Regions from separate parts of the Homo sapiens genome. Here region 2 is linked to region 1. The links are contacts of gene promoters, found by promoter capture Hi-C in human tissues and cell types (Jung and others, 2019). All regions are on one chromosome and are shown on one strand. Each heading gives the region's core, a stretch centred on a gene start or on the middle of the fragment in contact. The rest is flanking DNA. Distances are from core to core; before and after follow the strand shown.

Region 1 (3,486 bases), core at 284-2,783:
TAGCTGGGATTACAGGCATGCACCATCACGCCCGGCTAATTTCGTAATTTTAGTAGAGACGGGGTTTATCCATGTTGGTCAGGCTGGTCTTGAACTCCCAACCTCAGGTGATCCACCCGCCTCAGCCTCCCAAAGTGCTAGGATTAAAAATTGTTCATTTTTCTTGTTAACATTAATCTCTTAATTTTGCCTTCAATCTACCTTTAATTCCATCACCTCGCCTATTTCCTCTCTTCCAAGCATTTTCAGGTCTTCCTTTCTATTGAATCATTCTCAAGCTACAAACTGGGTCAGATTTTTCATAAATTAAACAACAAACCTCTCTTTGGCCCAGCTACCGTCTTTCTCCTTTTCTTTGTCCTAAAACTTCTACAAAACAAAGCTTGGTGCTCCATGCTCCAGATCCCTCTCTGGCTTGGCTCTACCCCTCCAGCTCACCCAAGATCACTGGTGCCTCCTGCAGCCTCCCACCTGCTTTTGACAGGAGTAGCTCCTTAAAATGGTTTACTATTTAACTGTTTATCCAAAGGCAAAAAGAAAATTTAATGTAACTACTAATTCTTAGTAATGACTATAATAGGCTAGCAAAGTATTGCCTGGTCACGATTTTTAGGGGAGCTGCTTAAGGAAACAAGAGAAATCCTTTTGTACTTCTCATCAGTTAGTTTGTAAGTGTGGAAAGCTAATGATTCTTCAGCACTGTAATGGTGCTTTAAAAGTTTTAAATGGTGCTTTTAAAGTTTTAAAAATGGTGCTTTAAAAGCACTGTAATGGTGCTTAGCGGATCATGAGATCAGGAGTTCGAGACCAGCCTGGCCAACATAGTGAAACCCCGTCTCTACTAAAAATACAAAACAAAAATTAGCCAGGCATGGTGGCGGGCGCCTGTAGTCCCAGCTGCTTGGGAGGCTGAGGCAGGAGAATCGCTTGAACCCGGAAGGCGGAGGTTGCAGTGAGCCAAGATCGTGACACTGCACTCCAGCCTGGGCGACAGAGTGAGACTGTCTCAAAAAAAAAAAACAAAAAAAACAGTTTTGCCTTAGTATCTTAAAGATTCTCCCCTTAATGCCTTTCACATTAATAATTTGCATGGCAAGTTCTTTGAGTGTAGATAGTACAAAGGAAAATCTCCTTTACACACCCCAGGGAACCCAAATTCCAAATTAATGAAGACAGTAGAGAGTTGCTCAACAGGTTTTGCAGCCCCGTTCAATCTTTCTGGGAACAAATTAATTTTTTTTTTTTTTTTTTGTGACACAGTCTCGCCCTTTCGCCCAGGCCAGAGTGCAGTGGTGCGATCTCGGCTCACTGCAAGCTCTGCCTCCTGGGTTCACGCCAGTCTCCTGCCTCAACCTCCCGAGTAGCTGGGACTACAGACGCCCACGACAGCGCCCGGCTAATTTTTTGTATTTTTAATAGAGACGGGGTTTCACCGTGTTAACCAGGATGGTCTCGATTTCCTGACCTTGTGATCCGCCCGCCTCGGCCTCCCAAAGTGCTGGGATTACAGGCGTGAGCCACCACGCCCGGCCACAAATTAATTTTTTAAGTCCTCTTAGATTAGGAGACTACTCTTGATATATTTTTGTAAGTTGAATCAGGTACACTCAGATTTTGAGTTATAATCCTTTGTGTGAAGGCAACTGGACTCGGCACAGTGGCTCACGCGTGTATCCCAGCACTTTGGGAGGCCGAGGTAGGATGATGGCTTGAGCTCAGGAGTTCCAGACCAGCCTGGGCAACATAGTGAGACCTTGTCTGTCTCTACAAAAAAATTTAAAAATTAGAGTGTGGTGGTGCATGCCTGTAGTCTCAGCTATGCAGGAGGCTGAGGCAGGAATATCGCTTGAGCTCACAGGAGGCTTGAACTCACAGGAGGCGGCAGTGAGCTAGGATCATGCCACTACCCTTCAATCTGGGTGACAGAGAGATACCCTGTCTCAAAATATATAATATATATTATATATTTTTCATATATATGAAAACTATTTAGAGAGGCTTTGCCTCCTTAAGTAAAATACATAATAATCTTTGAATTTTTTTTAAAGTCTCCATTTTCTTCACTTAGAAATAAATATTTGTGTAAATTATTATAGTCACTATTCAACTTTATTATAAAATTTAAAAAACATTTCTGGGCCGGGCGCAGTGGCTCATGCCTGTAATCCCAGCACTTTGGGAGGCCGAGGCGGGCGGATCACGAGGTCAGGAAATCGAGACCGCCCTAGCTAATACGGTGAAACCCCGTCTCTACCAAAAAATACAAAAAATTAGCCGGGCGTGGTGGCGGGTGCCTGTAGTCCCAGCTACTCGGGAGGCTGAGGCAGGAGAATGGCGTGAACCCAGGAGGCGGAGGTTGCAGTGAGCCGAGTTCACGCCACTGCACTCCAGCCTGGGCGACAGAGCGAGACTCCGTCTCAAAAAAAACCCAAAAACCATTTCTGAACAGAGCTCATTCCTGTGATTCTGAATACCATGGAAAATTATTCTGGCTTCTTTGGTTTTAAAATCAATTCAAAAAACTTTCCACATCCTGATTTCAAGTAAACACATTCAGCTATGTTTGAGGCTGAGAGGGGAAAGAAAAAAACACACAAAGGCGAGACAAGTCTCTCTTTTCAGTTTTCTTGGTTAATCCATTCTAATTAATTTCCTGAGAGGAAGTACAAGAGGTAAGCCCATTTCTTCAAATAACAGCACTGTGTGTTGACTTATCTTTTTAACGTGTATTTAAAGAGAGGACTCCTGTCAGTTTCTTTTAAATTCACTTTATAAGATGCATACTTTGAAGTAAACTCTCTTTGGAGGTGCTTGGTTTTAAAATAACCACCGCCAGCTAACTGCCTGTGCAACCATATAGTTCCATGAAAATCAACAAAAGGCCTTCATTGCGGGTTTCACTTGGAAGATGTTTACATTGTTCTATGAAGGTTAGAAAGGCGGAAGGAGCTCCCTGAGGTTTCACAGGAAGACAGTCCAGCCTATTTATTCATAATGGGATTTCAGTTACAGAACATTTAGATTCAACAGAAGGAGAATTTTAAATGGCTGAGAGAAGATGATAAGAAAATGTTCATAAACCATTTCATTTTGTTTCCCTCTTTAATGAAAAGGGAGAAAACACTCAATGAAGAAAGTTAATGACTCTGAAGTCCAAATGAGAAGTTTAGAAACAACTTCTTGAAAAAAAAGAAAAAGTATGCATTTATTGAATGACATTACTCAATCAATAATTTTGGATATTTTCTTTTTGTGTTTTTTTTTTCCATGCTAATTCTACAAACTGAAGGCAAGAATAAATGTTGTTTTTTTTAACCCCCCAAGACGGAGTCTTGCTCTATCACCCGGGCTGGAGTGGTGCAGTGGCATGATCTCTGCTCACTGCAACCTTCGCTTCCCGGGTTCAAGCGATTCTCCTGTCTCAGCCTCCCGAGTAGCTGGGATTACAGGCGCCTGCCACTGCGCCCGGCTAATTTTTGTATTTTT
Region 2 (3,486 bases), core at 384-2,883, 220 kb after region 1:
TATTAGTAGGGAACTACAAATCAAGATAATGAGGTAGTACTTCATATCTACTAGGATGGCTATAATTTAAAAAACATAACAACAAGTACTGACTGGTAAGGATGTGGGGAAATTGGAATCTTCATACATTGCTGGTGGGAATGAAAGATGGTACAGCTGATTTGCAAAACTGGCAGTTCCTCACACAGTTAAACAGTTACTATATGAACAAGTAGTTCCACTCCTAGGTATGTACACAGATATGCACACAGGAATGTATTCATATACGTCCACACAAAACTTGTCCATGAATGTTCACAGCAGCAGCATTCATAAAAGACAAAATGTAGAAACAACCCGAATGTCCTTCAGCTGTTGAATGGACACACATAAAATGTGGTATTTACAAACTGGAATTTATTCCAGCATAAGAAGGAAGGAAGTACTGATACATGCTAAAACATGGGTGAATTTTGAAAACATGCTAAGTGAAAGAAGCCAGTTACAAAGATCATACATACAGTCTGTGATTCTATTTACATGAAATTCCAGAATAGGCAAATTCATGAGACAGAAAGTAGATGAGTTGTTGCCTGGGGGTAGGAAGGGGGTAAATGGAGAGTGATTGCTTTGGAGTGATGAAAAATATTTTATCTGAAAGGCTGGGCAAGAATAACTCCCCTTTGTATTACGTGTCAGGTGATGTTAGTTATCCTAACTCTACCACTGGCAGATTGAGTTTTTTGGTCACAGAAGCTGAAAATGGCAGAGCTTTGTTGTTAATTCTGATCACTAGTTTGGCTTCAAAAAGTAATGAGTTAAGGAGGGCTAGAAAGACAGTGGATGGGAGGACCCAGTTGCTGAGAGCGTTTTCTGAGTGAACACTGGTAGAGAGACAGAAGGGGAGAGAAAACTTCAAGTTATCAGCTCGGTAACTTTGTACAAAAACTTATTTATTTATTTATTTATTTATTTGACAGTCTAGCTCTATCGCACAGACCGGAGCGCAGTGGAGCGATCTCGGCTCTCTGCAACCTCCACCTCTCCGGTTCAAGCCATTCTTGTGCCTCAGCCTCCCGAGTAGCTGGGATTACAGGCGCGCGCCACCACGCCAGGATAATTTTTTAAATTTTCAGTAAGGACGGGTTTTAACCATGTTGGCCAGGATGGTCTCGAATTCCTGACCTCAAGTGATCCGCCCACCTCGACCTCCCAAAGTGCTGGGAGTACAGGCCTGAGCCACCGTGCCCGGCCAGAAACACTGATTTTTATCAGTAATGATTCCACACCCTTTTAGGATATTACTAACATTTAAAAGAAAATATACCCAACTGTTGAAATTCGTGCTCCACTCCAGCAACTGCTTTCAATCGGAGTTCCATCCTCCGCCGCAGTATGCCCTAACGCAGCGTTATCTTCAGAGCTACCACCAGCTTCCGAAACCTTTCGGAGGAGCGCTTCGCCACCACCTGCACGGCGAAGCGGCGCGTAAACGAACCTCGAACGCCAGCCTTTGCGCCTGCGTGCCGCGGCTCCGTTTGGTTCCGCTTCGCTGGCGCCCGCCGGGCTCTTCCCCCGCCGAGGCCTGTGGTTTGTGGAGTCGAATTTCCCTGCCACCAGTGCCCGGTTAGCAGGGGCGCCAGCCTGGGCGCCTGCGCGGACGGCGGGCGTCGTCACCATGGCAGCATCCGCTGGAGGCCCAGGTAAGCGCCGAGCGCGCGGCCTCTGCCTGGAGGTGGGGCGCTTTGAGAGGCTCCGCCGGCCGTACCCTCCCTTTGCGGGCTCCCGCGGTCTTCCTTGCTAGGGACCTGGGAGCGCGCCGCGCAGAACCGGGCGGCTGGGCTTGGAGCCCGCTCTGCACTCGGGGCGCGCCCGCGATCGCCTGGCAAGGACCTTGGTTTGCCGGGTGGGCTCTAAGGGACAGGCGTTAGGGGAGGTCGAGAATGGCAGGGTCAGTGTCTTTTGAGGTCTGGGTTGGAAAGAAAGGAATGTGACGTTTCCCTAATCCTTAATTTCAGCCGACCGTATGGGGGCGGTCTGGGTCAGTAGGTTCCTCTTTGAAAGCTGGGGGAGGTTTGGGAATGCGGACTGGGCCGGGCCCGGCATAGTCCCGCTGCTGAGCGCGCTGCCTGGAAAGCTGGCAGAGTGTGCGGCTCGCTTGATTCCCCTTGGAATCAGGTGCTTCAACTCGCGGGACAGCAGTTCCGCTCTTGAAGGTTACAGTATCTTTTCTGTAAACTTAAGTAGTGGCATGAGACAACGTCAGTGACGCGTTCTTTCTTCAGTTTAGATTTTTTTCCCTAATTGTAAAAATAATACACGCTTTCACCATTCTGACTAGCAGGCTGTATAAATACAGGTTCTCTTCTGAATCGATGCACAGTTTACAGAATCTTGGAATAAAATGTGTGTGTAAGCGAAAAATGTCCAGGTCCTGATAAATGCCATTATAGAACATTTATAAAGTATATTAGTATAGGGAAATAGGAAAAAAAAATCCCCCAAATGCTGATACCCACAGGCACCACTACTAACTTTTTGGTATTTTCTAACAACCCTGACTCTTAAAAATAGAGTTAAGGTCATGGTAAACATAATTTTTAAAATCCTGCATCTTATACTATCCCATGTCACCAAGGTTTTTATAAACATAATTTTGAATGACTGAAGTGTTTTATACAATTATATTGTATACAATTATATTGTAATTAACCAGTCTCCTAATGTTGAACGTTAATCAGTCGTTTCCTGTTTTGTTTTGTTTTGTTAGAATTCATTCTGTAATGAACATTTTTGCATTGTTCTTCCTCAGTTATGTTTTTGGTTTGTTTTTATCCTGGACACGATTCTTGTAACTGAAATTACTGGATCAAAGGATGTGAACTTTTTTCTCTCTCTCTTTTTTAAGATCTGTGCTAAACCTCCGTAGAACATTTTTTCAGACCAGAGTTTTCCTTTTTTAACCCTTGTGCTCTTCTCAGTATAAATCCTTTTAATGCCTAGTTTTCCTAAGAATCCAAACAAATCTGGGACAAAGCTCACACTCAAGACTTACACCATTCTCACTCACAGGCTGTATAAATCCAGATTCTCTTCTGAATCGATGCAAGGTTTACAAAATCTTGGAATAAAATGTGTGCACAAGTGAAAAATGTCCAATTGCTGACAAATGCCATTTTTTAAAAAACAAATTTTTGGGCCGGGCGCGGTGACTCACGCCCGTAATCCCAGCACTTTGGGAGGCCGAGGTGGGCGGATCACGAGGTCAGGAGATCAAGACCATCCTGGCTAACACAGTGAAACCTCGTCTCTACTAAAAATCCAAAATAATTAGCCGGGCGTGGTGGCGGCGCCTGTAGTCTCAACTACTAAGGAGGCTGAGGCAGCAGAATGGCGTGAACCCGGGAGGCGGAGCTTGCGGTGAGCCAAGATTGCGCCACTGCACTCCAGCCTGAGCAACAGAGAGAAACTGTCTCAAAACAAAAACAAAAACAAAAATTTCTTCTC

What was found. Contacts are between HindIII fragments. The study calls those that stand out against the background at their distance.
Region 2: a contact is called between the fragment with the promoter of FAM151B here and a fragment that was not itself captured in region 1, in 1 of the 25 tissues and cell types used here (liver).

Annotation. Positions count from the first base shown.
Region 1 is chr5:80,266,327-80,269,812 of GRCh38, forward strand. No RefSeq gene overlaps it. Among named protein-coding and RNA genes, the nearest start is that of SERINC5, 12 kb to the left of the region's middle. The HindIII fragment of the contact is 8,436 bases long and covers 1-3,486 here.
Region 2 is chr5:80,486,467-80,489,952 of GRCh38, forward strand. It overlaps FAM151B (family with sequence similarity 151 member B), which reads left to right and starts at 1,634. Exons shown (of 6, transcript NM_205548.3): 1 at 1,634-1,682. The coding sequence starts at 1,658. It overlaps FAM151B-DT (FAM151B divergent transcript), which reads right to left and starts at 1,480. Exons shown (of 3, transcript NR_172938.1): 1 at 1,312-1,480. RefSeq lists enhancers at 1,238-1,739, 1,740-2,239 and a silencer at 1,904-2,198. The HindIII fragment of the contact is 21,804 bases long and covers 1-3,486 here.